Regions from separate parts of the Homo sapiens genome. Here regions 1 and 3 are each linked to region 2. Evidence: promoter capture Hi-C in 16 types of primary human blood cells and fetal thymus (Javierre and others, 2016). All regions are on one chromosome and are shown on one strand. Each heading gives the region's core, a stretch centred on a gene start or on the middle of the fragment in contact. The rest is flanking DNA. Distances are from core to core; before and after follow the strand shown.

Region 1 (3,083 bases), core at 305-2,804, 550 kb after region 2:
CACACATGGTTTATGTATGTAACAAACCTGCACATCCTGCACATGTACCGCTGAAATTAAAATAAAAGTTGAAGATTTTTTTAAAAGATAGCATTTACAATAATATTAAAAATATAAATAAGATTGTAACACCTGCATGAGAAATGTCATAAACCTTTCTTTAAAATATTAATGAAGGTCAAAATAGATGGAAATATATATATCAAAGACAATATTATAAGGATATCATTCTTTTCCAATTGATTTGTAGATCCAGTGCAATTCAAATGAATATCCAAAATAGGTGTTTTGTTTTTGTTTTTGTTTTTGTTTTCGTTTTCGGTCAGAGTCTTGCTCTGTCACCCAGGCTGGAGTGCAATGGCACAGTCTCAGCTCACTACAACCTCTGCCTCCCAGTTCAAGCAATTCTCATGCCGCAGCCTCCCAAGTAGCTGAGATTACAGGAACTCACCACCATAACCAGCTAATTTTTGTATTTTTAGTAGAGACGGGGTTTTGCCATGTTGACCAGGCTGGTCTCCAACTCCTGACCTCATGGGATTCACCCACCTCAGCCTCCCAAAGTGCTGGGATTACAGGCATGAGCCACCACGCCTGGCCCGAAACAGGTCTTTTGAATAACTTGATAAACTGACTAAAATTTATATGAAAATACAAAATCCTAAGATAAACAAAGTTCAAGAGATTAAGTGTGGCTTTGGAGTGGGGGTATACAGTGGAGTGAAATAAAGGGCTCAGAAGCAATCCCACATAATTAAGCAAAATTATTTTGCAGTTAAATAGAAGAGGAACTCATTAATAAATAGGTCTGGAACCACTGAAAAATGAAAAAGGATCCTTATGTTATACCTTACCAAAAAATCAACATCAGGTGGTTTTAGGGTGTAAAGGTAAGCCAAAACTTCAAAACTTTTAGGAGAAAACAGATCCAAGATGTCCTCATGTTCCTAGATAACATAGTGTAGTGTGACTAAGAACAAAAACTCTGAAGCCAAGTTCAAATCTTGTCTCTACCACATAATAAATGAGTGACCTTGTACATGTAACCTAATCTCTGTCTCCATTTCATCCTTAAATGATGGTAATAACTGTACTTACTTCATAGGGTGTATATGATGATAAAGTATATACAAATTACTTAAAAATAGCACCTGGAATTAAGTAGTACTCTAGGTTATAACTAACCCTGTTACTATTATTATAGTGCTATTGCACTCTTTCTCTTGTGCCATGATTAGTTTCTTCTGTGCATAAAAGGTCAAAAAGAGAAAGGAAGAAATCCCTTTTTAATTCCTCACTCTGATGATTCTACCCTTCATGATTAAATATATGCAGAAGCTCTGATCCTTAAGTTTCTATTGCTTCTAGATGAACATGGGACTCACTATCAAGGGTCTAATCAGTTTGGGGCCTTCAGCTTCATGGCTGGGTACCCAAGCACTCACTGTTCAACTCAACACCTAGTAATGTCCAGTCCTGGCCCTTGGGGTAGGTGAGCTCAACCGTCTCAAGTATCAAGCCCAAAATATAACATCAGGTGATACCACAACTATCCTGCCTGCTGCTTGCTGCACCATGAAGTCTGCCAAGCTGGGATTTCTTCTAAGATTCTTCATCTTCTGCTCATTGAATACCCTGTTATTGGGTGGTGTTAATAAAATTGCGGAGAAGATATGTGGAGACCTCAAAGGTATGAAGCTAAGGCAGAAAATAAATCCAAAGGTCAATTATGAATGAGAGAGAAGGTATTGGGAGAAAAGTGTGTTATCTAGGTAGTCCAGGAAGGTCTTCCTTTCATGACAATACCCATAGACACTTAGTCCCTTGACTCAGGGCATTACTTACACTAGGGGTCCTCTGGATGTTTGATGAGAAAAAACAGAAATGACACAAAGTCCTTTCCAGATGGAGACCTCTTTTATAGGAGGTCCAAAGGACTGGAAGTATTTTGAATCAGAGGTTGTGTGACAAATTTCAAAGATCCCAGACCATTGATGATTATGTATTGGGATGAGAGAGAAAGGGGGTTGGAGACAGAGCAAATTAAGACATTTTCAGTATCTGGGCTATGGACATATACAGAACTCTTGGACAGATGATTCCTGTTTAGAGGAGCTCACAATGTAAATGTGAGAGGCAATGAGACTTTCTTCCATAGATAGTGTGTGAAGGCTCAGCGCTTCCAGGGGACGAGAAAGTAGCACAGTTTATACCGTAAGTCAGACACTTCAAGTTCTGGACCTGTTCACTTAGCAGATATGTGCCCTTGGACAAGTCACTCAACCACTTATTATTCTCTTAGTCTCAGTTTCCCCATGTGTAAAATGAAGATCAGAAAAGTGCCTGCTGCAGAGGGTGTTTGTGAGTATGAAATAAGATTATGCACATAACTTTACCAGAGAGTAAATTCCAGGCTGGCTGCTTGAGTAAGGTGGATTGTCAATACAACCATGATTGTGGCTGTTCCAACCACTTACTACCCAACTCTTAACAATAAAAACAGAGGGTTTGCCTCTGAGAAGGCAAGAAAGGAGAAGATGACGGGGTATGAGGATGAACGAGCATCACCCCAAGGTTATGCATTTTAGCATTTTAGTATGCATCCTGCTTTAAAGATAGCAGCAGCCATGGTTACTTAAATTTTGAAGTATAGGTAGTATAGTGAATGTATGAAACTGGGGAGGAGGCACTCTGAATTGCATGTCCTATGTGGGCAATTAAAAGGAAAGGAAGATGATGTGGGGAAGCAGGAGGATACTGTACTTTAATAAACTGTAAGATAGGAAATGTAGGGAAGCTCATCGCCCTGCACAAGCTAGTGGTGGAACCTCCTTTTTCACTGATCACTACTTCTCCTTCTCCAATACACTGCTCACGACAACAACCTGGAATTTTAACCAATTTGCATTGTGCAAGGGCAACATTTCCAAGCAACTCTAACTCCAAGAGAAAACCACATCTTTCAGAGTCCTTGAATATGAGAATAGTTCCAGGCTAAACGTAGGAATTTTTAAGGGCCCATAAAGACAAGTTCTCCTGCTGAGTCCTTACCAATTCCCACTAACTCAATGGGAACCTCTCAT
Region 2 (3,168 bases), core at 533-3,032:
CTATACCTTAGATTTCATTTACATACAAATTGAAAAAGTATACTAAACTGAATATATATTTCAGAATACAGACAGAAGTGGCATAACTATAAAGGAAAGCAAGGGCTAATTACCATAAAATCTTAGGAAGCAGTTATCTCTGGGGAGGAAGGAGAATGAAGCAACTGAGGAGAGGCATGGAGCATAGATATAGCAAATATTCTCCTCCTTTACCTGGCAGCTCATTTTAATGCTATTCTTTAAAGAATATAGGTATTTTCTGTGAGCTTTTTATTTGTTTGTATGGCTTATTGTACAATGAGCTTTTGTGTAAGGTAGCCAAAGGCTTCCACAGTCTGACATTCGTTTATGTCTCCCTCAGTTTCAGGCTTGGTGGGCATGTGGTCAGAGTCTAAATCGACAAGGGGTGGGGATTTCACCAGCTGAATTAGTGTCCAATAATTAGTTTGTTACCTTCCCTGCCTTAACTCCACCTCAACTCAGTGACTTTCTTAACTCAGATTCTGTCCCTGACAATACCCAACTTCAGGATATTCATTTCTATTACTCAGAACTTTTGGTAACAATGACAGAATAGTAAGTCAGACTAGCTGAAGCAGAGGGCTAATTTATTGCCTCATAACCCAACCATGAGAAGGGTGTGTGAAGAACTGCTCTCAAGGTAAAGGAGGGAAACCTGGCTGTGTCATCTGAATCTTCTCTCACCATCACTTCTCTCCTTGTCTCAGTGTATTAGAGTCGTTTTTCTCAGACAATTGATCTCCACCCCCAGACTTAGATAACCACTTCTGGAATTCCCTGGTTCATATATATCACCTTTTCCAGAAGAAGGAACCCCCGTTTTCCCCTTTCATTACTCATTCAAATAAAATATGTTAATAGACCAGACCAAGTCTCACACACAACACACACACACACACTCACACACACACACACACACACACACCCCTACCTGTGGTCAGGGGTCAGGCTTTCATGATTAGCAGTCCCCATTAGACTCACAAGTTGATGGTTCAAAGAGACAACAATTCTTCACAAGAAACAGGGTGCTGTTCAAAGAAGTGGGGAGGCATGCTGGACACACACACTGTAGATGTCCAATGTATACATGATACATGTTTTCTACTACTTTCTGATTATTTTCTCCCTACCACTGTGATTTCAAGGGCATCATCCCTCTTCAGACCTAGAATTCCACCTTCCAATTACTTTCTTGATGCATCTGAAAGGCCGTCTCTGAAACAGCAAAGTGCAATAATTAGTCATTATGTATTCAAGGCAAATTTGTCTTACAGAGTTTTTTGCAGGACCAGGGAAGAAGGAAGGAAATGCCCAGTTTGATGCTGGGAGTGGTAAAATGATAAAGTAGATCTGGGTGGGGTTTGTAGCACCAGAGCATAATGGAGAAACACCTTGGTTTTGTAATCAAGACTGGATCTACCAGTGACTTGCTGAATAACCTTCGGTGATTCCTTTCTCTTCTTGGGTCTCACTGTATTTCAAAACATGAAGAATTTCATTGTAATGTTACCTAATAAGTGAGCCAGCACTTCTACTCTGTGAGAAAGTAGGAAAACTCTTGGGACAATCAGAGATGATGTGATGTAATGTCCATTAGTTCTTCCTGTGAATAATCCTGAGGGAAAGCCCCCAGGTCCCTCCCAGAATGGGGTGGATATTTCCCAATACAGCTAAGGAATTATCCCTTGTAAATACCACAGACCCGCCCCTGGAGCCAGGCCAAGCTGGACTGCATAAAGATTGGTATGGCCTTAGCTCTTAGCCAAACACCTTCCTGACACCATGAGGGCCAGCAGCTTCTTGATCGTGGTGGTGTTCCTCATCGCTGGGACGCTGGTTCTAGAGGCAGCTGTCACGGGAGGTGAGTGAACAGGTGACCTGCTGGGCTGGGTTGGACTAAGGGGAGACCCTCTGGGACACCCTGGGCCAGGACAGGGAGCACTTCTGAAGCAGTAGGCAGCACTGGAGCCCAGATTTCAGCTTTCTGTTCTTTGCCATCATATTCAGAAAAAATAGGACTTTGGCTGGTGGACTCCACGTGCTTTCCACCTCAGTGACTGAGATATCAGGACTGTTTGTGGAAGTAATGTTGGTATGTGGCCTTGGCCTCAGATGTCAATACCTGTGCAGAATGTGCAATAAAATAATGAACTCCAGGATTTTAAACCTTGGGTGTGGACACAGTCCCCCGTTTCTCTGCCCCATAAAAGCACTGGAGTAATCAGTACTCTAAAAGGAGGTTAAGAAACAACAAGCCTTCAGGAATCATGTTGTTTGAGGACCCCCATTTTATAAGGAGGGAACCAAAAATGTAGAAATGAGTGAGCAATTGCCAAGGTAATTCCCAGAGCCAGGATGGGGCTCAAGTCTCCTAGTATGTGGCTCAGGGTTCTTTCCTACTCCAATGCACTTCCTAACAAATGACAATGTGTCCTCTTCACTGCTGGGTGTCACCCCAGTCTGACCACTGCTCCTGAGAGACTTGGAGTGGAGGAAGGGGGAAGAAACAAATACTCAAGGGAACTCTGGTCCAGTAGACCACCCCAAAAAAGGAAGAGCCTTCCAAGAGTGTAGCTCCCAGAGGTGTACCTTCCCTACTCAGGCCATGGTTTGAGGATGCTGCAGTAAGCAGTGGATGGACCCAGACCCAGAGGAAAGACATGGCAGCTGAAGCAGAGGCTTACTGGGTATAAATGTGGGCTCGTTTCTTCTTTTAACAGTTCCTGTTAAAGGTCAAGACACTGTCAAAGGCCGTGTTCCATTCAATGGACAAGATCCCGTTAAAGGACAAGTTTCAGTTAAAGGTCAAGATAAAGTCAAAGCGCAAGAGCCAGTCAAAGGTCCAGTCTCCACTAAGCCTGGCTCCTGCCCCATTATCTTGATCCGGTGCGCCATGTTGAATCCCCCTAACCGCTGCTTGAAAGATACTGACTGCCCAGGAATCAAGAAGTGCTGTGAAGGCTCTTGCGGGATGGCCTGTTTCGTTCCCCAGTGAGGTGAGCACTAGCTGGAGAACGAGGAGACCCCTGAAGACACAAAAGAAGGCTGAGCGGTGGGGAAGCATCCCAGGTTGGTGGGAGGGAGGTTGTGGGAGGTGACAGAAAGACTGGGAGACTGAGGGGTCTGAGAGGCTATAACCAGAGTGCC
Region 3 (3,138 bases), core at 469-2,968, 530 kb after region 2:
CAGGGGTGAGTACTAGTTATTGGTCTCTGTTAAATTGTCAACAGCTTGAACCTCAGCTTCTTTTACCCCAATTCTGGTGCCATTTGCTACTACAGTTATAGTCATGACCTCTTTCTTCATTCATTCCTTTCAAATCATCATAATATCCTATAGATTTCCTTCTAATTGCAAATATTTGCAGAGGAATAGACCCACAATTCCTCTATTTGCAATAGAATGCCCCACTTTTGACTTTTGCCCCCAAAGAAAGGGAGAATCACAAGGTACAAAAATTAGGACCTGGAAGGGCTTGGGGAAAGGGATTAATGGGGCCCATCTTTAGAGTCCAGGAATAGAAAGGAGATTGTGGGTTGTGGACTTAGGGAAGACTCTCCCAGGGCAGGTAGGTCTTAGCTTTGAACTGAAATACTTGGGGGTAGGGGAGGAAATAGGAAGTCAACATAATGATGCTTATTCTTCTCTAACAGTAGAAAGTGGGGCATCCTGGTGCTCTGGCCTCCTGATCGAGAGACACCAAGGAAGAAAAAAGCTGAATCTTTGAACGCCATTCTGAAATCCCCACCCTTCTTACCATGAAAGAAGTCACTCCCAGAACTTACTTGTGAATTGGGTCCCAGCTCTCTGATCCAGTACCTTCAGTTTAATGCATGGTCTTCATCCTTTACCAAAACTTACCTTTCACTCATTCTTCCTGTACACAAATAACCCATGTTAGGTTAACCCCAGGGTAAACTATGTTGTTAATGAGAAGCTCTACAACTTGCTCAAGACCACACAATGAATCAGTGCAGAACGAACATACAAACCTCTTTCTTGTTCACCACATACACCATTGATACCCTTGATATGGACACAACCATAGTCAATGGGGGCTTGGCATCTGAACTACAAGGATGGTGAATGACCAATGGGTGCAGGGTTCTACCAAACTCTGTTCTTGATCAAAAAATATCCATGCCCTGCTTCCCTGCTCAGAACTCAGAGGAAGGCAGCAGCTGAGGACAAAACCTGATGCCACCACCCTGGAACCATGCAAGGCAGATGAGGGTGGCAGGTTTCCTGGCAGTTCCCTGGGCTTTCTGAGTTCTGAACATTACTCCAGCCTGTTGGTGAGGCCCTTCTCTTACTTGTTCTGTGTTCCAGAGTATATCTTGGAACCTCCACCCTGCATATCAGCACCTGAAAACTGTACTCACCTGTGTACAATGCAGGAAGATTGCGAGAAAGGATTTCAGTGCTGTTCCTCCTTCTGTGGGATAGTCTGTTCATCAGAAACATTTCAAAAGCGCAACAGGTAAGAGATATCTCATATCCAGGTCTGATCCTAGAGCTGCTGGTGGGAGCCCAGCAGAAGAGTCCCTTACCAGCAACTGTGCTGGATCTCTCCTTTTTTTTTTTTTTCCTTGGTGGCCATGTTGCCAACATGCCCCTTCTCTTGACCAAGGATAATTTCCATAAAAGTCCTGATTAGAAAAGCCCTCCTCCCCTCCCAATCACCACATCCCATCACCATATCCGTGAATTTCTGACTCTGCCTCTCTGAACACACCCACAAATGCCTTTATCCACAGACCTTCCCCCGACCCAGAATCCACCCTTATCCCAGGGACACTGTACCTGCAGGTGTAACCAAAATCCCAAAGCAAAATTTGTCCTACACTTTTGCTTGCCCTCCTTTCACAAGACACCATCCTTTGGCCACCAGTGTTCTTGGGCTCTGGAGATCCAGCCCAAAGGAAGTTTTGATTAATTGTCCAGACATTAACACTAGCCGCAAGCCTGCTAAATGGAGTGTGCTCCCAGGGCAGAGAAAGGACATAGGGTGCTGATGAGACATATGGTTTCTAATCCCATCTTGCAACTATGTCTTTCTATGACCTTGAGTAAGACAATTCCCTCTTTTTTACTTTCTTTTTCTCATGAGTAAAATAAGTACTCTTGTTTTTTCCTGCTTTGCAAGGCCCATATGAAATTTCAAAAGACTCACAGTGGAAGACTCAACCAATGAGCCCTTTGAGGGAAGCCTGGCAGTCTTGTTCCCTGCTGTATTCCCTACCATGAGCAGAATACCCAGCATGAGATAATGTGCAGAGTGATTAAGCATGGGCTCAAAGCCAAACACCTGGGCTCAAATCCTGGCTTCTTAGCTAAGTGACCTTAAGTGATCTTAGACAAGCTAATTAACCTCTCTCTGGGCATCAACTTCCTCATCCTTAAGACTGGAACAATAATAGTGAGGTTAAAATAGACAATCCATGTAAGCTTTAAAACATTACTTGCCAACATAATTGCTGTGAATTTTGGGGATTAGGCAACCACTTCTCTTTGAAGAGACTAGCCCTTGCAATTAAATTCCACATCTTTCAATGCTCTACATTGGAATGCAGAAGCATAAATATAACTCTTTGGTGTCATTGAGTTTTTTGAGGTTCTGCCTTCCCTATGGCAAGAGAAATGAGCTTCATGGTCTAATATTAATGGTGGAAGTAATTGAAAGAAAAATATATATCTCTAAAAGTAAAACTTCACTAGTTAATATTTGAAAATATTTTTCTTCTACAGAATCAAACACAAGGGCTCAGAAGTCATCATGCCTGCCAACTGAGGCATATTTCCTAGATCATTTTGTAAGTACAGGGATTTGGTCTCGCCTTCCTCATGTGAGATTCCCAGGGATGCTCACTTTCTTCCTGTAGCCTCACCAGGGGCACTACATTCCCACAAGCTCAGAATGGCCTCTCATTACCTGATTGCCTCCTCCTCCATCATTCCCCTCCAAGGGCTATCTTTGCACTCCCTGGGGGAGGCACGGTGCAGTCCAGCATGAATTCTGCAACACAGAGCAATGTAAGGAACCAAGTCATGGCCCAGGGGGAACCCAGGGCACTCAGATCTGAGGCTTTGTCAAGGAACAAGCTCTTCTAGCCTCCGGGTTGACAGCACCCTGGGCAGGGACTCAAGCTGAGCCCTTCACGCTCTGAGACTTTGGTCTGCTCACTGTACCTCTCTGAGACAGTCACCTCCCTCATGTGAAATATGAAGAAAACATCCATGCCTTGGGGTATTGGGAGGACAACACAAGGCCATGTAGATGGAAGAACTTGGTCTCTGCAAAGGTAGAAACTGCCAGCAACTCAC

The links. The method cuts DNA at HindIII sites, captures the fragments that hold promoters and counts their contacts. A CHiCAGO score of 5 or more calls a contact.
Region 1: the fragment with the promoter of SPINT4 here is called in contact with the fragment with the promoter of PI3 in region 2 in 5 of 17 cell types (M1 macrophages, M0 macrophages, total CD8 T cells and 2 more); the score reaches 10.6 in M1 macrophages.
Region 3: the fragment with the promoter of WFDC10B here is called in contact with the fragment with the promoter of PI3 in region 2 in 8 of 17 cell types (M1 macrophages, M0 macrophages, naive CD8 T cells and 5 more); the score reaches 12.4 in M1 macrophages.

The regions. Positions count from the first base shown.
Region 1 is chr20:45,720,793-45,723,875 of GRCh38, forward strand. It overlaps SPINT4 (serine peptidase inhibitor, Kunitz type 4), which reads left to right and starts at 1,555. Exons shown (of 3, transcript NM_178455.3): 1 at 1,555-1,690. The coding sequence starts at 1,576. The HindIII fragment of the contact is 5,556 bases long and covers 1-3,083 here.
Region 2 is chr20:45,173,120-45,176,287 of GRCh38, forward strand. It overlaps PI3 (peptidase inhibitor 3), which reads left to right and starts at 1,783. Exons shown (of 3, transcript NM_002638.4): 1 at 1,783-1,882; 2 at 2,742-3,017. The coding sequence starts at 1,804. The coding sequence ends at 3,016. RefSeq lists an enhancer at 1,373-2,572. The HindIII fragment of the contact is 9,599 bases long and covers 1-3,168 here.
Region 3 is chr20:45,703,301-45,706,438 of GRCh38, forward strand. It overlaps WFDC10B (WAP four-disulfide core domain 10B), which reads right to left and starts at 1,719. Exons shown (of 4, transcript NM_172006.2): 1 at 1,618-1,719; 2 at 1,197-1,261. It overlaps WFDC13 (WAP four-disulfide core domain 13), which reads left to right. Exons shown (of 4, transcript NM_172005.2): 2 at 1,144-1,294; 3 at 2,563-2,627. The coding sequence ends at 2,605. It overlaps MIR3617 (microRNA 3617), which reads right to left and starts at 1,880; the gene lies at 1,802-1,880. The HindIII fragment of the contact is 3,233 bases long and covers 1-2,260 here.